Linked DNA regions of Homo sapiens: region 1 is linked to region 2. Evidence: promoter capture Hi-C in human tissues and cell types (Jung and others, 2019). All regions are on one chromosome and are shown on one strand. Each heading gives the region's core, a stretch centred on a gene start or on the middle of the fragment in contact. The rest is flanking DNA. Distances are from core to core; before and after follow the strand shown. Region 1 overlaps SIN3A (SIN3 transcription regulator family member A). Region 2 holds the start of COMMD4 (COMM domain containing 4).

Region 1 (4,343 bases), core at 1,150-3,649, 80 kb before region 2:
ACTTTGGGAGGCTGAGGAGGGCAGATCATTTGAAGTCAGGAGTTCAAGACCAGCCTGGCCAACATGGTAAAACTACCGAAGATACAAAAAAATGAGCCAGGCATGATGGCATGCACCTGTAATCCCAGTTACTCTGGAGGCTGAGGCACGAGAATCGCTTGAACTCAGGAGGTGGAAGTTGCAGTGAGCCGAATTTGTGCCACTGCACTCCAGCCTGGGTGACAGAGTGAGACCATGTCTCAAAATAAATAAATAGGCCAGACGCAGTGGCTTACGCCTGTAATCCCAGCACGTTGGGAGGCCGAGGCGGGCGGATCACGAGGTCAGGAGATTGAGACCAGCCTGGCCAACATGGTGACACCCCATCTCTACTAAAAATACAAAAATTAGCTGGGCGTGGTGGCAGGCGCCTATAATCCCAGTTACTCAAGAGGCTGAGGCAGGAGAATCGCTTGAACCCGGGAGGCGGAGGTTGTATTGAGCTGAGATCGTGCCTTTGCACTCCAGCCTGGGAGACAAGAGCAAGACTTCATCTAAAAAAATAATAATAATAATAAATAAAATAAATAATAAAATAAAATCCAGGTGCCAGTTGGTTTGGTGTCTGGTGAGGGCCTGAACTCTGTTTTTCGAGATGGTCCCTGAATGTGTGTCCTTACACTGGAAGGGAGAAGGGCCGAAGGGACTAACACTGGTTCACTCCAGCCCTTTTATAAGGTCCCTAATCCCATTCATGAGGGCTCCACAATCACTTTCTGAAGGCCTCACTTCTTAATATCATCATATCGGTGATTAAGTTTCGATGTAAGAATTTTGTGGGACACATTTCAGACCACAGCACCAGTTAATGATTGACTTGAATGTAAATGTTCCATTTTGCAACAAATCAAAAGACTATCTATGCCTGGCCAGGTGTGGTGGCTCACATCTGTAATCCCAGCACATTGGGAGGCTGAGGCAGGCGGATCAGTTGAGGTCAGGAGTTCAAGACCAGCCTGGCCAACATGGTGAAATCCCATCTCTACTAAAAATACAAAAAAATTAGTTGGATGTGGTGACATGCGCCTGGAATCCCAGCTACTCAGGAGGCTGAGGCAGGAGATATCACTTGAACCCAGGAGGCAGAAGTTGCAGTGACCCGAGATTGCGCCATTGCACTCTAGCCTGGGAGACAAAATGAGACTCCCATCTCAAAAAAAAAAAAAAGAAAAAGACTGGCTTAAATCACATCAAATGTTTATTTCTGAAATTTCTTAAACCTGATATTTTGTATAATTTTAAATATTTAGGCTTCAGTTAAACTACCAAAATAAAACTTAACGTATCTCAGAGTAAATAGGAAACACCTAGTGGGGATTTCTTTTGGGTGTCTCTGTCCTAAATCAGACTCATAGCTTAGCCTTTCCAACCTGTTCTTCTTTGTGATAGGTCAGTTTTTTTTCTCCCCCAGCCAAACTGTATCCAGCTTTAAAGATACTTTCCAAAAACAGTCATGGTATTTCAGGCAGAACATGGACAATCCTTAACAATGAGCTACCAAAAAAAAAAAAGCCACTATAAAACCCAGTGAAGTCTCATTTGATGCTCTGAACAGGGAAAGTTTAGAGTGAAGGTTGACACTTCACATTTAGCATGTTGTTTAACAACTTTTCACAAGCCAACCCTGACTTTCAGGAAGTGAAATGAAAATGGCAGGACTTATCTGAAGATCCACAGTCTAGAAAAAGCAACCACTGCTCTTTTGAGGGCTGCCATTTCAGTGGCATCACTGGAAAGTTTGACTGCCTGACATATTGGTAACCAGTTATTGGGGGTTAGGTCCCAACAGGTGTCTGGGTAAAAGGGAGTTAGGTCTGTGAAGGTGGGGAGGGAGAACAGGATGTAAAAATGAATTTGTTTTTCCATCCCACAAGGTGTTTGTGCCAAGGTGGCCATGTGTGTTAAAAGTCAGGGAATCTAGGCTGGGTGTGGTGGCTCACGCCTGTAATCCCAGGACTTTGGGAGGCTGAGGCTGGCAGATCACTTGTGGTCAGGAGTTTGAGACCAGCCTGGCCAATGTGGTGAAATCCTGTCTGTACTAAAAATACAAAAATTAGCCAGGCATGCTGGCGGGTGCCTGTAACCCCAGCTACTCAGGAGGCTGAGGCAAGAGAATCGCTTGAACCCCGGAGGCAGAGGTTACAGTGAGCCAAGATCGCACCACTGCACTCCAGCCTGGGCAACAATAGCAAAACTCTGTCTCTAAATAAATAAGTAAATAAAGTCAGGGAATTTCTTCTATAAGCCAAGAGGAAGTCTCTCAAAACTAGAAGGGAAAGGTGTTTTCCCCACGTCAGTCCAGCTTCAAAGACATTCTATTAGTGACCTGTGATCCTTCCCACCAAAACAACAATGAAGTGTTCTGTGTGCGATAACAACACTGCTTTAGAAAAAGCAAAACAAAATTCTGCATTTTTATAAAGCTTGATTTAAACAATGGTATTTCAAAATTTACAAACTTCATAACTTTATAGTTCAAACTTTACAGTCACCAGAAGTACACAGTTACCAAAAATGCACATGTTTCACTTGGCATCTCTAGCACCTTCAGCTTTCTGTGCCTGGTCTGTTTTGGCATCTCCATTTCCTGCAAGGTTATTCCCCTCCCTGCCAGTGTCAGCATTTTCCTTTTTCCCTTTGGGTACCTCCTCTCTCTCCTTTGCAGGGGACTTTTTTTTTTTTTTTTTTTTTCCTGAGACCGAGTTTCACTCTTGTTGCCCAGGCTGGTGTGCAATGGCATGATCTCGACTCACCGCAACCTCCGCCTCCTGGGTTCAAGTGATTCCCCTGCCTCAGCCTCCCGAGTAGCTGGCATTACAGACATGCGCCACCATGCCTGGCTAATTTTTGTATTTTTAGTAGAGATGGGTTTCTCCGTGTTGGTCAGGCTGGTCTCGAACTCCTGACCTCAGATGATCCTCCCACCTCTGCCTCTGAAAGTGCTGGGATTGCAGGTGTCAGCCACTGCGCCCAGCCTGCATCCTTTTTAGGGTTGGGCTCTGGCTTTGGAGGAGCAGGTTTAGCATACAACCTTGCGGATCTTCTCTGGGTTGTTCTTCACCTTGGCTCTATCTCCTTTAGCATCCCCTTCAGGCTTTCTCTTGGGTGTGGTGGTGATGTGGAAGGATGTAAGCGCTGAGTGCGGGATGCAGTGGCATGTGGGCTTTGATCGGTCCGAGAGTCACTCTTGACTGTTCTTCCTCAGTGCTCCGTGGCGGATCACTTTTGAATGCTGGCTCTCCCTTAGCTCCTCTATTCAGTCAGTTCCCCAATCCTGTCACTTCTACTACCCAAAAAGCTTTTTTATCTATGCAGTTCTCTCTGTTGTTCTGGGCCAGTACTATAATTCAAGCCACTGTTTTCACATGAGTTGTCCAGTTATTCCTGTAGCATACCTGGTCTTCCTACCTCCTTTCAATCTTTTCTGCTCTTGTGCCAATTTTTTCTCAACACTGCAGTCAAATTGCGTACACGAAAATGCAGATGATAAAAATCTAAATTGCTTTTTCACAAGATTTACAAATCCTTTCAGAATCTAGATCCTGCTTTTTTTTCTGTCTCATTTTGTTACTTTTCCTTCCTCTTCACTACAGATCCTCCAGCCAAACTAAACTGTTTTCAGATTTCTAAATATCCCATATCGTATCCTGTCTAGGATTTTACCCGTGCTGCCGCTTTTGATTTTCTTCACTGGTCTTCACTTTTGCTAGCTTATAGTCATCTTTAGGTCTCAGTTTATACATTACCTCCTGGGGAAGCCTCACTTTTTTTGGTGGAGAAGACGTGTCCTTCCCATGTCATCTCCAGGCATGGAGTGATTACCGGGTTACCCACTGTGTTATGATTCCTGACTACATACAAACAAATGTCTATAGACGAGGGGCTACAAATTATTTGTCATTGAATCCTTGGTACTCACATTGGGCCTGGTATGTTGCAGTTTAGTAGATACTTGTGAAATGAATTAATAAATGATATATCATTGTAATTATTCTTCACTGATCATTCTGTTCAAAATTTTCCAAGGCAAGGCTACAGATTTTATGAGTTGATTATTATTTTAAGCTTGAGTTTATTATTGGTATCCATACTAACTTTTAAGTATATATTTAATATATTTTTACTTCATTTACTGCATTAAGCATACTTAGGCATAAATAATTTGTTTTTGTTTTTTTTTTGTAATTATGAGCTTACTTTCTTTTTATAACCTTGATATTTATCCCTGCCTCAGGTGGAGGATGCGCTATCTTATCTTGACCAGGTGAAGCTGCAGTTTGGTAGTCAGCCTCAGGTCTACAATG
Region 2 (4,533 bases), core at 1,888-4,387:
GACAGGGCAGGTACACCTCAGGGTCACAGGGCCTGTCCCCTTCTCTAGCAGCCCTTGGCCCACAGGCTGCCCAGCTGCCCACCCACAACCCGTACCTTTGGGCAGCCCCAGCTGCTGCAGTTCACTGGACAAGGATTCGCCATCGACACTGTGCTTGGCCGCACTGGAGAGGATGAAACTCAGCACTGCCACTGTGGCCTTCACATCGCCTGACTCTGAGGGACCCGTGGGTGGGGCAGGGGGTGTCACTGTGGGTCCAGCCACCTCCCTGTTGCCCTATTAACTTTAGCTCAAAGCCCCCAGGCCTCCTGGAGCCACAGGCACTGCTACTGCTCCACCAGGAGCTGGCAGAGGACAGGAAGGTGGGACTGTCGGTCTTTCTTTCCCTCATGCTCCTCCACTAGGGAAGGTAAGTTAAGGATGCTGCTGGGAGGGGTGGGGGGCCCCTCTGTACCAGGCACCAGGCCAAGTTCCCAGGGTTGCCTGGGGCCTATAGACTCAGCGGGATACTCACCAAACTTGGCGTCAGCCGTGAGCTTCAGGATCTTCTCATACTATGGGGAAAGGAGACCTTCAGGGGGTGCCAGGCCCCTGCTCACCAGCCCCTCACCCCCAGCCTGGATCCTGCGATAAGGAACAGACAGGCTGGAAAGAAGGAAGGGAGGTGCCCAGAGAGGTTGAGAGGCTGGCTCACCCGTCTCCCTGGGCCTAGTGCAGAGTTTCAGGGCAGTGGTGGTCATAAGGTCATGGGACAATGGGGTGCTGGATCTTGTACTCACATCAATCCCCTGTCCCAGCAGCTCCTTTAGTACCTGGCTGCAGAGCAGCCGCAACTTCACAGAGGACTGGAAGGGAAGTCCTTACATCAGCCAGGCTGGCAAACCTCACCCCTCCTTCCTGGGGACTGGCTCAGAGCAGGCCAGCCACTGATCAAGGTCACAAAGCATGGTAGCACAGGCTGAGAGCACTGAGGCCCTAGCCCCAGAGAAACCTCACCATCCTCTACACCCACAATCCCCACCCCCAACACCCCTCCTCCACCCAGACTAGACCCTGTGCACTCAACCATCTTGGCCAGCGTGCTGATTTCTGCCAGGACCCAGTCGGGACAGTCCAGATCACCACAGAACCGGAACCTCTGCAAGGGAGGGAGGCAGGTAATCAGGCTGGAGGGAGGCCTGAGGTGTGGCCAGGATCCGTGTGTCTCCCACACTGCTGCCCACCAGGGACCCCTGGTCCCCGACATAGATGGATACCCTCTGGCCTCTTGTTCTCCCCTATCACCAGGCTGTTGAGTAAACTCTCTCCCTGACCCACCCTGCCACCAAACCCTGCTCTGAGGTCTACTCCAGGCATTCATCTGCTCAGCAAACATCAATTAAGCACCTTCTCTGTGCTAGCTCCCACTCTAAGTGCTGGGGGTACAGCATGGGATAAAACAAAGTCCTGGGCCTCACAGAGACGAGTGAACTCTCTCCCCTCTTCCCCATACCCACACAACTCCAGCCACTCCAGCTTCCCTGCTGCTGCTGGGGCACACCAGCCTTGCTCCCGCCTCCATGCCTGCTGCACTCTCTGTGTGGCTTGCTATCCTTTTTTTTTTTTTTTTGAGACAGTTTCACTCTTGTTCCCCAGGCTGGAGTGCAATGGCGCGACCTCGGCTCACTGCAACCTCCGCTTCCCAGGTTCAAGTGATTCTCCTGCCTCAGCCTCCCAAGTAGCTGGGATTACAGGCATGTGCCACCACACTCGGCTAATTTTGTATTTTTAGTAGAGACAGAGTTTCACTATGTTAGCCAGGCTGGTCTTGAACTCCTGACCTCAAGTGATCCGTCCCCCTCAGCCTCCCAAAGTGCTGGGATTACAGGCGTGAGCCACGGCGCCTGGCCAGTGGCTTGCTATCCTTTAAGTGACACATCAGACCAGCCCTTCTTTTTTTAAAAAATAAAAAAATAAGACAGAGTCTCCCTCTGTTGCCCAGGCTGGAGTGCCATGGCCATGCTGGTCTCGAACTCCTGACCTCAGGTGATCCACCCTCTTCACTCTCCCAAAGTGCTAGGATTACAGGCATGAGCCACCGCACCCAGCCAGAACAGCCTTTCTTGATTATACTTCTTAAAATAGCCCCTCACACAAGGAAATTATGGAGGCCAGTGGATACGTTCATTATCTTGATTGTGGTGATCCAAGAGCCAGGAAGATTTGTTCTCTACTTGTCCAGCCTCATCTTTCCCTAACCTGCAGATGATACTCTCCCAGCTATGGGAAATGCATCCATTCCTGGGGAGCCATACTCTCTCTAACCTGAAGTCTCTGCACATGCTGTTCCCTGTCTGAAGACACACGTCTCCCACCCTTGCCTCCCTACCCCTGGTACACAAACTGTACTTCAGCCAGCCAGCTCCTGCCATCCATCCGCCTTTAAGTTTGATGGCATCCTTAGGAAGCCCCCTTAGCACTACACACAAGGCGCAGTTAGGTCTCTGCCCCTGGAGCCTTAGCTATGACTCCAATTCAAGCCTCCGATTTCCCCTTCCCTTGGCAGCTCAAGTCCTCCCAGTGCCTAGCACACTTCATGGTATAGACCAGGCGCTTAGAACGTACGGATGGATGGATTGGATGGATGGATGGATAAGTCTCAACCCCAAAACTACTACTTTCTGGCTCTGGAAAGAGCGGAGGGGCTTCCTAACAGTGTGGAAGAGTGAGCCTGATTCTAAGCACCTTCTTGTACAAGCCCCACGGCAGGGCTGGGGAAGGGGGTATCCTTGGGAGGTCCTCTTGGGGATGGGGAAGACCTGAAAGGACTCCCAGCTCCAGACAAGCCCTAGTTCCTGCCCCGGGAGGCAGGGGCCCTTCCTTCCGCCAGGGAAGCACCGGGACTCTAAGCCGGCCGGCCTGCTCTGTCTTACCCGCCCCGTACCCCCGCCCCCGTCTCGGGAGCGGGAGAGTGGTGGACTTTTCCCTACCAGACTCACAGCCCTCACGCCCGCACACACTGTGTTTGCGGAGAGGCCAGTACAACCTCCCCCAGTTTCCGGAGCCACTTGGCGCCCCCTCATTCCCGCTCCAGCAGCCCAAGCCTCGCTTCGCCCCTAGTGCCTCACCATCGCGCCAAGAAGCCAGGGCCCGGGAATTTCTTTTTCCGGTCCCGCAGGGTCAGCTGAGTCGACGATCACGTGACTTGGACTAACTGCCTCTGGGAGGGCGGGGCCTGCTCGAGTGAGGCCGGGAGCGGACCGCAGCCCGCTGGAGGTGCAGGGGGCGAAATGCTGGCGTCTCCTCCTCCGTCTCCCAGAATCCTTCCCTGGAAAAAACTGGCGCCAACCGCCAGTTTAACTGAGGACCGAATTAAGACATTAGGAAAGACAGTGGAAGTTATTTCATTTGTTTAACTTAAGGGGGTAGGATCCCGGGAGCCAGGGTGTTTCAGGTCATTGACACGTTTTCCACTGTTAAGCGAATAGCATTATTCACAGCTGCGGGCTGTGGCAAAAGACATTTTAAAAACTATTGACGTCTACTACACATACAGAAAATTGTACCTATTATAAAGCTTAATAAGTTTTCATCAACTGTACACCTCACATAACCAGCACCCAGGTAAGGAAATAAACCAGATAACTTCTTCAAGTGCATGGGTATTTTATTTCATTTTGATGAATCATCTAGGTGCCTAGCAAAAAGGGCTGTCATAATTACTTGCTCAGGAAAACTCCCTACAGCTTCAACATCAATAGATGCTTATCTTAATTTTTGCCAGTCTGATGGGGAAGAAAAATCGGTTGCTTAGGTTGCAGTGGTAGTCTGATTACTGGTAGCTCTGAGCTAATGGGTAGTCTAGAACAACTAAGTTTCCGACATTGACTTGAAGAGGCAAAAACAAAAAGACAAAACAACAAGAAAAATACATTTGAGAATAGACTAATAACCAGAGACAAAATTGAATACAGTCGTCCTTTGGTAACCTCAGGATGTTGGTTCCAGGACCCCAGAGATACCAAAATTCACAGATACTCAAGTCCCTGATATAATATGGCATAGTATTTGCAAATAACCTGTGCACATCCTTCCGTATACTTTAAATCATCTCTAGATTACTATAATACCTAATACAACGTAAATGCTTTGTAAATAGCTGTTATAAAGTTTTTTAATTTTTTTTTTTGAGACGGAGTCTTGCTCTGTTGCCCAGGCTGGAGTGCAGTGGCGCGATCTCCACTCGCTGCCAGCTCTGCCACCCGGGTTCACGCCATTCTCCTGCCTCAGCCTCCCGAGTAGCTGGGACTACAGGCGCCCGCCACTGCACCCGACCTGTGTTTTTTTATTGTTTTACTTTTTCCAAATATTTTCGATGCACAGTTGGTTAAATCCAAGGATCCAGAACCTCAGGATACAGAGGGCTGACTGTAGTTTGAGCTCTCTCCTCAATTCCATGCCTATCCCATGCAACAGGTGCAGCTGGTTTTATTGTTGCAGGCTTTCAGGTTTTTAAAAGACAGAGCCCATGACAATTAAACTGCACTATAAAAT

What was found. The method cuts DNA at HindIII sites, captures the fragments that hold promoters and counts their contacts. A contact is called where the count stands out against the background at its distance.
Region 1: a fragment that was not itself captured here is called in contact with the fragment with the promoter of COMMD4 in region 2 in 4 of the 25 tissues and cell types used here (H1 embryonic stem cells, adrenal gland, bladder and 1 more).

Annotation. Positions count from the first base shown.
Region 1 is chr15:75,414,242-75,418,584 of GRCh38, reverse strand. SIN3A (SIN3 transcription regulator family member A) reads left to right here. Exons shown (of 21, transcript NM_001145358.2): 4 at 4,274-4,343. Among named protein-coding and RNA genes, the nearest start is that of SIN3A, 35 kb to the left of the region's middle. The HindIII fragment of the contact is 5,110 bases long and covers 1-4,343 here.
Region 2 is chr15:75,334,667-75,339,199 of GRCh38, reverse strand. COMMD4 (COMM domain containing 4) reads right to left here and starts at 3,137. Exons shown (of 8, transcript NM_017828.5): 1 at 3,108-3,137; 2 at 1,067-1,138; 3 at 780-845; 4 at 515-554; 5 at 96-215. The coding sequence starts at 3,110. RefSeq lists enhancers at 2,744-2,913, 3,254-3,303. The HindIII fragment of the contact is 27,503 bases long and covers 1-4,533 here.